Regions from separate parts of the Homo sapiens genome. Here all the other regions are linked to region 4. Evidence: promoter capture Hi-C in human tissues and cell types (Jung and others, 2019). All regions are on one chromosome and are shown on one strand. The core of a region is centred on a gene start or on the middle of the fragment in contact, and the rest is flanking DNA. Distances in the headings are between cores, read along the strand shown. Region 1 overlaps FARP2 (FERM, ARH/RhoGEF and pleckstrin domain protein 2). Region 2 holds the start of D2HGDH (D-2-hydroxyglutarate dehydrogenase). Region 3 holds the start of PDCD1 (programmed cell death 1). Region 4 holds the start of AGXT (alanine--glyoxylate aminotransferase).

Region 1 (2,700 bases), core at 118-2,617, 620 kb after region 4:
CCTCCCTCTCTGGCATCTTCCCTCCCTGTGGTCCTCCCTCCCTGGGATCCTCCTTTCCTAGGATCTTCCCTTCCTAGAGTCCTCCCTCCCTCCCTGGGATCTTCCCTCCATCGGCTTCTCCCTCCCTCCCTGAGGTCCTCCCTCACTCCCTGTGATCTCCCCTTCCTGGGATCTTCCCTCCCTGGGGTCCTCCTTCCCTAGGATCTTCCCTTCCTGGAGTCCTCCCTTGCTCCCTGTAGTCCTCTCTCCCTGGGATATTCCCTCCCTGGAGTCCTCCCTCCCTGAGGTCCTCCCTCACTCCCTGTGATCTTCCCTTCCTGGGATCTCCCTCCCTGGGGTCCTCCTTCCCTAGGATCTTCCCTTCCTGGGGTCCTCCTTTGCTCCCTGTGGTCCTCCCTCCCTGGGATTTTCCCTCCCCATGGTCTTCCTCCCCCAGGGCCCTCCCCCAGTAGGGTCCTCCTTCCCTGAGATCCTCTCTCCCTGGGGTCCTCCCTCCCTGGAGTCCTTCCTCCCCCAGTGGGGTCCTCCCTCCCTGGGGTCCTCTTTCCCTGTTCTTTCTTCAAGGGTCTTATCCCTCTGCACTGCCTCCTCCTGACAATGAGCGCCAAAACCCTCAGGCAGGTGTTTGTAAAATTTAATTCCACTTCTCAGGCCCTCAGCAAGAAGAGGTCAGTTTGAATTAGCTCATCTGCCACCACCGGAAGCAGACCCCATTTGTTTTAAAGTATACTTTTAAAAATTACACCTTTATTATAGAAAAAAATAATTGAAAGTATAAGACAGAAATCACTCATCACTGGCCAGTTGCTGTGGCTCACGCCTGTAATGCCAGCACTTTAGGAGGTCAAGATGGTAGGATCGCTTGAAGCTGAGAGTTTGAGACCTGCCTGGGGAACATGGCGAAGCCAAATCTCCAAAAATCTTTTTTTTTTTTTTTTTTTTTTAATTAGCTGAGCAAAAGTGGTGTGTGCCTGTAGTCCCAGCTACTTGGGAGGCTGAGATGGGAGAATCACTTAAGCCCAGGAGGTCAAGGCTGTAGTGAGCCGTGATCGTACCACTGCACTCCAGCCCCAGTGACAGAGTGAGACCTCGTCTCAAAAAAAAAAAAAAAAAAAAAAAAAACACAGAGAAAAGAAACAAGAAAAAGAACTCTATCATCGTACCCACTCAGCAGTGATGGCTGCAGGCATCTGCTGCATGGTTGCCATCACCCACGGGCTGTTTTGTCAGGACACTGGTTTTCCTTTCCTTTCATGGCAGCCCCAGTTCACTTAACTAGTCACCTGTCACTGGACGCTTGGCTGTGGCTGGTTGTTGAGGACTGTAACATTGTTGGATCTCTGTCTTTCTGCACATCCTTAATTATGTCCTTCAGATCAATTCCAAAATGTAGATTTGTCTGAGCAAAGGTGTTTACGGCCTTGGGCACTCCTGCTAAATTGCTGTTGGAGCACCTGCGCCAGCTGACCTTCCCACCTGCAGGAGCTAGGTCTAAACATGCATCTTTCCCTCCACCATGGAAAGTGCTAGGCACCTGTCTCTCTTACTCTTCCCAAGTGGGTAAGGTAAGCAGCCCCATCGAGCAGCCCCATCATTTCACTTTGCATCCCTGCGGACTGTCGGTGAGGCCAGCCTGGCCCCTGTGTCCTGGCATTCCATGCTTTTCCTCTCAGGAATCACTCAGCGTGCTGGTCACTCTGGTCTCCATTGGTCTGTGAGTTTTTTGTACACATTAGTGAAATGTTTATATGATAATGCTCACCAACACTATTAAGTCACAAATTATTTTCTCAGTAACTGCTTTTTACTTTGCCTACAATTTAGTTTTACCTTGTAGAATTTAAACTCCATCTTGATGGGTTCTGTTTCTCTTACTCTAGAATGGCATCTGGCACATATAGGGAACCCAGCAAATGCTTGTTGAAGGTGTGAATTGAAACAGACACTCCTCAACTTATGATGGGGCTATGCCCTGATAAACCCATTGTAAGAGGAAAATAGTATAGTCAAAAATGCATTTAACAGGGCACGGTGGCTCACGTCTGTAATCCCAGCACTTTGGGAGGCTGAGGTGGGTGAATCACCTAAGGTCAGGAGTTTAAGACCAGCCTGGCCAACAGGGCGAAACCCTGTCTCTACTAAAAATACAAAAATTAGCCAGGCGTGGTGGTGGGCACCTGTAGTCCCAACTACTCGGGAGGCTAAGCACAAGAATCACTTGAACCTGGGAGGCGGAGGTTGCACTGAGCCGAGATCACACCACTGCACTCCAGCCTGGGTGACAGAACAAGACTCCCTCTCAAAAAAAAAAAAAAGAAAGAAAAGAAAATGCATTTAATACACTTAACCTCTCTGATGTCATAGCTTAGCCTAGCCTACTCTTTTTTTTTTTTTTTTTTTTTGAGATGGAATCGCTCTGTCGCCCAGGCTGGAGTGCAGTGGTGCCATCTTGGCTCTCTGCAAGCTCCACCTCCCGGGTTCACGCCATTCTCCTACCTCAGCTTCCTGAGTAGCTGGGACTACAGGCGCCCGCCACCACGCCTGGCTAATTTTTTGTATTTTTTAGTAGAGACGGGGTTTCACCGTGTTAGGCAGGATGGTCTCGATCTCCTGACCTCGTGATCCACCCGCCTCGGCCTCCCAAAGTGCTGGGATTACAGGCGTGAGCCAGCCTAGCCTACTCTAAATGTGCTCAGAACA
Region 2 (2,700 bases), core at 178-2,677, 870 kb after region 4:
AATCATTCCTAATCCCAGGGGTCCAAGATGCCACTGGCCTGCTAGTCAAAGGGAGGGCGTGTGGAGGTCAGGTGGTAAGGGGGTCCACAGACCTCATCTGTGGTCGTCTTTCCAGTTCCTGAATGTGTAATTGCAACAGTTACCCTTGACAATGGGCAAACTCCCACACTCATCTGCAGAGCAAGGGCCAGCCAGGTAGGAAGGGCCAGGTGGATGTCTCCTTTCCAGGGTTGTATGAATGATTCACCTGGGAAGAAGGTGAGTGGCCTCTGGGGATGTGGTTAAGGAGGACAGGAATGACTCCTTGCAACTGCTGCTCCAGAGCCTCATCACCAGGACAAATCCAGCTCGCCGGTTTTCTGTGTGACTACCAGGACCCATCTGCTGTCACGGGCGTAGCCTCCACCTCTTGCACAGCTCCGCAGTCCTGCCTCGGGCCAAGTGTGGTCTCCTGCTCTCTGCCCTCATCTGCTCAGAGATTGGCATCCTCTGCACCCGCTAGGGTTCTATGGAATTGGGTGAGCTGAAGTAACAAGTGCTTTGGGAGGCCGACGCGGGCGGATCGCTTGAGTCCAGGAGTTCGAGACCAGCCTGGGCAGCACATGAGACCTCATCTCTACAAAAATACAACAACAACAAAAAATTAGCCGGGTGTGGTGGTGCACGCCCGTAGTCCCAGCTACTTGGGTGGCCGAGGTGGGAGGATGGTTTGAGCTCGGGAGGCAGAGGTTGCAGTGAGCTGAGATCAACCCCAGAACTCCAGCCTGGGCAACAGAGCTAGACCCTGTCTCAAAAAAACACAAAACAAGTGCTGGCGATGCCTCAGGCAGGGGATCCCAGGCCGGGAGGCTCCTCGGGACAGCAGTTACTGCGTCAGGAGGGCAGGAGCTCCCCAGGTGTGCAAAGGGTTTGAGGGCACGGAGGGCTGAACAGGCAGAAGGGACAGGGAGGCAAGAAAACACCTGCAGGAGGCAGCTGCCCCCTAAGCTAAGGCTGGGGACCCAGGAGGGGTGGTCCGTGCAGGAGCTGGGGAGGCCGCTGGGGAAAGGGGCGCCCCCTGGGCTCGGCCTCGGAGGAGCGGGCCGGCCCCCAGGTCCCTCGGCCGAGCCCACGTCCCGGGCCTCGTTCTGGAGAACCCTCCAGCTGCTGCTTGGGCGTCTTGGGCTGCGCTCAGCCTAGTCCCTTCTCTACCTGGAGGGATGCGCCCGACAGCCGGCGCGCCGGAGGCCCTCAGGAAACGCAGGACGAGGCGGTGGCCGTCGAGCCTCCGGTGCCAGTCGGGGCGGGGCTTGGACGGCGGGGCGGGGACTGTAGGCGCGCAGGGCTGGGCCTGGAGGGCAGGCGGGGCGGGGCCCGTTAGGCGCGCGGGGCGGGGCTTCGGCCGCTGGGCGGAGCCGTCAATGCGCAGGCGCGGCGTCGCCCCGCCCACTCCGGCTCGGCGGCTCTGGGCCTGCGGCGGGCGCTGCGGGTTGGAGCTCGGGACGTGATCGTGGGTGCGTGCGCGCGGCCGCGCGGAGCGCTGGGCTGAGGGTCCCGGTCTGCGGTTCAGCCGCGGGTCGGGGTGGCGGGGCGCGATCTCGGGCGCCGTCAGCCAGTCGGTGCCTGTGGGGGGAGGGGGACGGCGCTGCAGCTCGTCACGTGACCGCGTGGAACACGCGCGCGCGTCCGCGGGATCCCCTCGGGGGGCGAGCTCGGAGGAACGGGGTCCTGGGCAAGGTCCCGGCGAGGCCGCCCCGAGCCTGCGCGTCGCTAAGTCCAGGCCTGCTGCGTGGGGCTTCGCGCGCTCGCGGGGTTGCGGCCCGGGCAGGGGGAGGGCCCGGGTGCTCGGAGCCTTCCCTTCGCTGCCCTCCTGCCCCCTCCCTGCTTCTGCAAGCGTGTTTCAATTTGTACAACGTGCATAAAACATGAAATTACCCTTGGCCACTTCCAGGCGCGCAGCCAGCGGCTCCCTGCCCTTCCCCTCCGGGCCCTGAGTACCGGCCCCCCACCAAGGAGGAGCCCGAGGTCTCCGTCCCGGCGGCGATGCTGCCCCGTCGGCCTCTGGCGTGGCCCGCGTGGCTGTTGCGGGGTGCTCCGGGAGCCGCGGGTTCTTGGGGTCGGCCGGTTGGCCCCCTGGCCCGCAGAGGCTGCTGCTCCGCCCCGGGGACCCCCGAGGTGCCGCTGACCCGGGAGCGCTACCCCGTGCGGCGCTTGCCGTTCTCCACGGTGTCTAAGCAGGACCTGGCCGCCTTTGAGCGCATCGTGCCCGGCGGGGTCGTCACGGACCCGGAAGCGCTGCAGGCTCCCAACGTGGACTGGTTGCGGACGCTGCGAGGTGGGTGAGGCTTGGGAAGCTGCGGCGTTTCCGCGTCCCTGCTCCGCTGCGCCTTCCCGTGGAGGCTTCAAAGCGGGCTGAGAACAACCTGGATGGGGGTGCCAGCCCCTGGCTGCGCTGAGAGGGGCGTGTGCACCGCCACAGGCTGCTGGAATGAATGACCACGAACGAGTCGCTTAGAACAACCCAAGTTTTGTTGTTGTTGTTGTTTTGTTTTTTCTTTTTTTTAAGACGGAGTCTCACTCTGTCGCCAGGCTGGAGTGCAGTCACGGAGTTTCACTCTGTCGCCAGGCCGGAGTGCAGTGGCGCGACGTCGGCTCACTGCCACCTCTGCCTCCCGGGTTCAAGCGATTTGCCTGCCTCAGCCTCCCTAGTAGCTGCGACTA
Region 3 (2,700 bases), core at 15-2,514, 990 kb after region 4:
CCTTAAGAGGTGGCGCTGAGGCAGGAAGGCACGGCCCTGACAAGGATGCTGCCTCAGGTGCCGGGGAGCAGGCCCCGGGAGAGGGGCCGAGGTGGGGAACCCCCAGTCGCCTGCCACAGTGAAGGGGCACCAGGACCCCCGGGGCAGGAGCCTCGAGGGGGTGTCAGGGCGGCCCCAGGGGTGCCCCTCATCTTGTCCTCCCAGTGGTGTCACACCCCGGTACCCAGCAGGGCCCAGAGGGACTGTCTTAGGCTTGGCCTGGGTGAAACCACCCTCCCCAGGCCTTGGCATCCCCAGGTGCAGGCTGGCTGGGCACAGAGGGCCAGCCGGGCACAGAGGGTCCAGGAGCGGGCTGTGGTCACAGTGTACACAGAGGGCCCAGGGTCACGGGCAGCCCAGGAAGAGGCTCCCTCTCTCCTCGATCCGGGAGAGTGAGGCCAAGGCCTCCCCCACGGATGGTCTGAACAGGGCTCGGGGAGAGCCCTGGAATCTGGGCAGAGACCCAGGCGGGCACAATCCCCACCCAGGAGGGATCCTGGAGACAGAAGAACTGTCCTCACTCGAACAGGTACACTTTGGATATAATGAGAAAAATATCACCAGCTCATCTAAACTTTGACGTCGTAAAGCCAAGGTTAGTCCCACATGGGGCTCATCCCATCCTTAGGAAAACTCGAGTGAGGACCAAGGATGCCTGGGCAAGGCAGAGCCGCCACGCAGACTCCCCACGGCCAAGGTTTGGGGTTCTGGCCAGCCTGACCCGTCATTCTACAGAAACACGCAGCCCCAAGGACCGGCTGAGAGGGGACAGAGGTCCTGCCTGCCCAGGAGCAAAGAGGGGACTTGGGCCAGGGGAGGAGTTGGGGCCCAGAGAGGAACCCAGGAGTTCGAGCTGCCCAAAGCCACACAGCTCAGGGTAAGGGGCAGAGCTGGGGGCCAAGGCTGGGCCTGCCACAGCACCCCCCGACCTGCCAGGGACTGAGAGTGAAAGGTCCCTCCAGACCCCTCGCTCCGGGACCCCTGGGCTGCCAGGGCCAGGCCCGCCTCAGCACCCCCCGACCTGCCAGGGACTGAGGGTGGAAGGTCCCTCCAGACCCCTGGCTCTGGGACACCTGACCGCCGACCCCACCTACCTAAGAACCATCCTGGCCGCCAGCCCAGTTGTAGCACCGCCCAGACGACTGGCCAGGGCGCCTGTGGGATCTGCATGCCTGGAGCAGCCCCACCAGAGTGCCGCCTTCTCCACTGCTCAGGCGGAGGTGAGCGGAAGGGAAACTGTCCCAGGTCAGGTTGAAGGGAGGGTGCCCGCCCCTTGCTCCCGCCCCCTCTTCCTCCACATCCACGTGGGCGAGAGTGACAGAGGCAGTGCTGGGGGAGGAGGGGTGAGGAGGGGGTAGGACTGGGGAGAGGGTGGGGGAGGGAGAGAGAGACAGAGACAGGGAGACAGAGGAGATGGGGAGGAGGTGGGCCCGTGGCCCCCACGCCCTACCCCGTGGGGGTCTCCCCAGCTCAGGGCCCCTTCCTCCTCTGTGTCTCTGCTCACTGCTGTGGCCTCTTTCCATATCCCGCCCGAGCTGCCCCTCCTGAGGCTGCCGGGTGGGGGCAGGCCCTTCTCCTCCCCCATCCCCCCCATCTCCCTGGGGGCCGGGCCTCCCTGCCTGGGGAAGGTGGGTGGCCCCCTCTGGGCTCAGGTTCCTGGGCTGCAGTGAGGGGTGGGCTCAACCCCACTCCCATTCTGTCGGAGCCTCTGGGAGCCTCCCGGCTGCCCACAGCCTCTGCCCCTGCTGGGGGCAGGTGCCTGGCCTCTGCCTTCCCGGCCCATCCCCCTTCGCTGGGGCACAGGTGACCCTACTGAATGACAACTGTCCATGGCTAATCGGCTCCCCCTCAAAGCTTCCACCTTGTGGATGGCCTCACACCATGGCCACAGTTCCAGATCTTTCCACCGTGTGATGCCTGCAACAGCCTGACGGGGGGGCTGGGGCGGTGGCAGGGGCTGGCTGTGAGGCTGACCTCCCCTTCCAGCCTTGACCTTCTTCCCCGGGGCCCTGCCCTCCAGCCCACTCGTGCCAGGGTGGGGTGGTTCAGGGGGTCCAGTGCCTGGGCCTGGCTGGCGGCCCGGCGTTTGTGAAATGGCTTGCTTATCTCCTTGTATTCTGTGCTGAGCATTTTATTACAGCGAATGGAAAACAGGAGAAATGAAACTGCTGATATTAGTGATGAGATGCGTCAGGCTCATCAGCTTAAAATAACCGAAGCGAGGCTAGAAACCGCCTGACAGCTGGCGCGGCTGCCTGGCTCCGAGAGACACTCGGCCCGGCTCTGAAGGGAAAACATTAAAGCACCGAAACAGTGGAAAAAGAGCATCAAAGATGATGTCTGCGAGGCGCGGCCACGGCGAGGAAGCTCTCGTTTATGAACAAAGGGCCACTCCCGGGTCTCAGAGATGTGAGGCTGTGTGGGTGGCTTGGTGGGGAGGTGGGGGGGGCCCAGCTGGCCAGGTGGGCTTGGCGGGGGGCCCCCAGGGAGCCTGGCAGCACCCACTGTGCTGCCAGACAGCTAAGGTGGCCCGCAGCAACTGTCTCCTGGCACACCCACCCTTGTGCCTCAGGGGCTGGGGCTCTGGGGCTGGAGAACTGTTGGTTGGTAGGTGCCTCCATAGCCCTGTGCCTCGCCCAGGCAGTGGATAAGTGGCTAAGC
Region 4 (2,700 bases), core at 177-2,676:
CAGGTGGACATGAGCATGGCAGAAAAGGAAGGGTCAAAGATTTCACCAAGATATTTGTCAGAGGGAAAATGAGGACAGCAAAGATCACCTGGAGACCATCAAGCAGGCCCCAGGTGGGGTGGGTGGAGGGGAGCCTCTTTATTTGAGAAATGTAGAATGAATTAGACTTCCCTATTATCTAAAGTTGGCACCTGGTTCCAGGCCTCTTTTCAACCTAAAACTTATACATAACTAGAATTTCTATACATCTCTGGAATGCAGCATGCTGAAACTCACTGTGCAACCCCTGCCTTGTGTGTGTCTGTATACCATGCAGGTTTGCTTGCTAAATTGAGCCTGTAAACCAAAAAGTACCTCAAACAGGTCTCAATTAATTTAGAAAGTTTTTGTTGCCAAGGCTAAGGATGCACCCGTGGTACAGCCTCAGGAGGGAGGACATCCTTGCCAAGCTCAAGGGTGCACCCCTGACCACAAGGGCCCAAGGTGGTCGGGGCACAGCTTGCTTTTATACATTTTAGGGAGATATGAGGCATCAATCAATACATGGGAGATTTACATTGGTTCCATCTGGAAGGGCGGGACAACTTGAATTGGGGGGCTTCCAGGTCATAGGTAGATTTAAACATATTTTGATTGGCAACTGACTGAAGAATTATTATCAGCAGAAAGGAGTGTCTGGGTTATGAAATAGGGGTTGCAGGGAGCAGATGATGCCTTCAGGTAGCGGGATTTAGAGAGAAAATAGATGGTAAATGCTTCCTATCAGACTTAAGGTCTATGTCGATGTTAATGCTGGGGGTTATGATGTGGCATGGCCTGAACGTCTTCCGGGTTAAAGTTTAGAGCACCCTGGCGGACAGGGAACCCCATTCAGATGGTTGCTGGGGGGCCTTCGAATTTTATTTTTGGTTTACAAGCCTTCCCATCAGCTGCGCCAGGGTCAGCAAACCACAGTCCATGGGCCCAATCTGGCCTGCCACCTGCTTTTTGTAAATAAAGTTTTATAGGAACACGCCCACACCTCTGGCAGCTGCTTTGCAAGCACGCAGCAGGGTTGAGTTGTTGCAACATAGACCACAGGGCCTGCCAAGCCTCAATTATCTGTGCTCCGACCCTTTAAGAAACACTTCTCTCACCCCTGAGCTAAGCAGAATAAGAGGGGCTGGACGTGCAGGACTCAGAGTGGGAGCGAGGAGGGCTGGGGTGAGGACAGCTTTGTCACACTCTGTTTTTCTGTCACTCAGCCCTGGGGGCTCCCTCTGCCTGAGGGCTTCGTCCCCTGCTGCCTGGCCGTGACCCGCAGCACAAGCACAGATAAGCCTCAGGGAACAAAAGGCAGGGCTGCCACGGAAGCCCATCCACCAATCCTCACCTCTCACCTCTGTGTCCGCCCTGCTGGGAAATATTCCAGGCTTTGGCCAAGGCCAGTGCAGCCCCAGGTTCCCGAGCGGCAGGTTGGGTGCGGACCATGGCCTCTCACAAGCTGCTGGTGACCCCCCCCAAGGCCCTGCTCAAGCCCCTCTCCATCCCCAACCAGCTCCTGCTGGGGCCTGGTCCTTCCAACCTGCCTCCTCGCATCATGGCAGCCGGGGGGCTGCAGATGATCGGGTCCATGAGCAAGGATATGTACCAGGTAGGAGTGGGGGTCACTCGGGGGGCCTGGGTCTCACCCATGTTCCCACCCACAGATCGTGGACGAGGGAAGGGGGTCACTGCCTCCTCACTTGGGGAGGCGGGGAGCCTGGGTCTCACCCTATACCACCCGCATGCAGATCATGGACGAGATCAAGGAAGGCATCCAGTACGTGTTCCAGACCAGGAACCCACTCACACTGGTCATCTCTGGCTCGGGACACTGTGCCCTGGAGGCCGCCCTGGTCAATGTGCTGGAGCCTGGGGACTCCTTCCTGGTTGGGGCCAATGGCATTTGGGGGCAGCGAGCCGTGGACATCGGGGAGCGCATAGGTAAGGGAGAGGCCCAGGTGGGGATGGCCCTGGATCCATCCTTCAAGGCCTCCCTGGCCTCCCTCTGTTTGAAGCTGGCAGCCCCCGTTCCTGGGTGAGCGCTTACCCACCTTGTGGCCCTGTGCGCACGAACCTCCTGCCAGCCCACTGCCTCCTCCAGGCGGTGTCGGGCACTCATGAGGCCTGACTCTGATAGGGCTGGGAGCAGCACAGGTGCCCCGATCCCCCCAGTCTCCTTGAGCTGTTTCTGGAGCATGTGCAGGACGGAACTACAGGGAAGCCTCTGGTCCCAGCACACACTCCTGAGAGCCCCGGCCGCTGTCCAGGGCCCCAGGCACCAGCTCTGCTTTGTGACAGGGTGGGGTTTCAGAAGCTGAAGCCTCCCCTCAAATCTCAGCAGCCTTCCTTCTGGAATCTTGATGTGATACACAAAATATGGAGGTATGGGCAGAGTATTCGCCTCCGGAGTACACTTTTCTGGGAGAGACACAGGAGCAGGAGTGTGCCCTGGGTTTAATGATTGATTGTGGCATTGAGGGACATCAGCTTGGTGAGCTCCACAATGGCCATGCTGGTTAATACGCGACCGCAACAGCCAAGAGGGTCCCAACCCCAAGTCCACAAACTTTTCAAGGGGACCCAGGGTCGGCAGAGGCCAGGACCCCAAGTGGACATCAGGGCACGCAGGCTCAGATGCCTGTGGTATATGGCTTCCCTTTTCCCCATTCTGTCCCC

Evidence for each region. Contacts are between HindIII fragments. The study calls those that stand out against the background at their distance.
Region 1: a fragment that was not itself captured here is called in contact with the fragment with the promoter of AGXT in region 4 in 3 of the 25 tissues and cell types used here (heart right ventricle, hippocampus and spleen).
Region 2: the fragment with the promoter of D2HGDH here is called in contact with the fragment with the promoter of AGXT in region 4 in 2 of the 25 tissues and cell types used here (lymphoblastoid cells and neural progenitor cells).
Region 3: a contact is called between the fragment with the promoter of PDCD1 here and the fragment with the promoter of AGXT in region 4, in 1 of the 25 tissues and cell types used here (psoas muscle).

Annotation. Positions count from the first base shown.
Region 1 is chr2:241,485,366-241,488,065 of GRCh38, forward strand. The region is part of intron 21 of FARP2 (FERM, ARH/RhoGEF and pleckstrin domain protein 2); the gene reads left to right. Among named protein-coding and RNA genes, the nearest start is that of MIR3133, 8.8 kb to the left of the region's middle. The HindIII fragment of the contact is 9,439 bases long and covers 1-2,700 here.
Region 2 is chr2:241,733,203-241,735,902 of GRCh38, forward strand. It overlaps D2HGDH (D-2-hydroxyglutarate dehydrogenase), which reads left to right and starts at 1,428. Exons shown (of 10, transcript NM_152783.5): 1 at 1,428-1,493; 2 at 1,931-2,314. The coding sequence starts at 2,023. RefSeq lists silencers at 955-1,004, 1,045-2,094, 2,105-2,214 and an enhancer at 2,255-2,494. The HindIII fragment of the contact is 17,644 bases long and covers 1-2,700 here.
Region 3 is chr2:241,857,630-241,860,329 of GRCh38, forward strand. It overlaps PDCD1 (programmed cell death 1), which reads right to left and starts at 1,265. Exons shown (of 5, transcript NM_005018.3): 1 at 1,134-1,265. The coding sequence starts at 1,209. It overlaps LOC124908032 (a long non-coding RNA gene), which reads left to right and starts at 1,443. Exons shown (of 2, transcript XR_007088436.1): 1 at 1,443-2,448. RefSeq lists an enhancer at 471-1,433. The HindIII fragment of the contact is 28,999 bases long and covers 1-2,700 here.
Region 4 is chr2:240,867,398-240,870,097 of GRCh38, forward strand. It overlaps AGXT (alanine--glyoxylate aminotransferase), which reads left to right and starts at 1,427. Exons shown (of 11, transcript NM_000030.3): 1 at 1,427-1,633; 2 at 1,773-1,965. The coding sequence starts at 1,469. RefSeq lists an enhancer at 946-1,446. The HindIII fragment of the contact is 24,692 bases long and covers 1-2,700 here.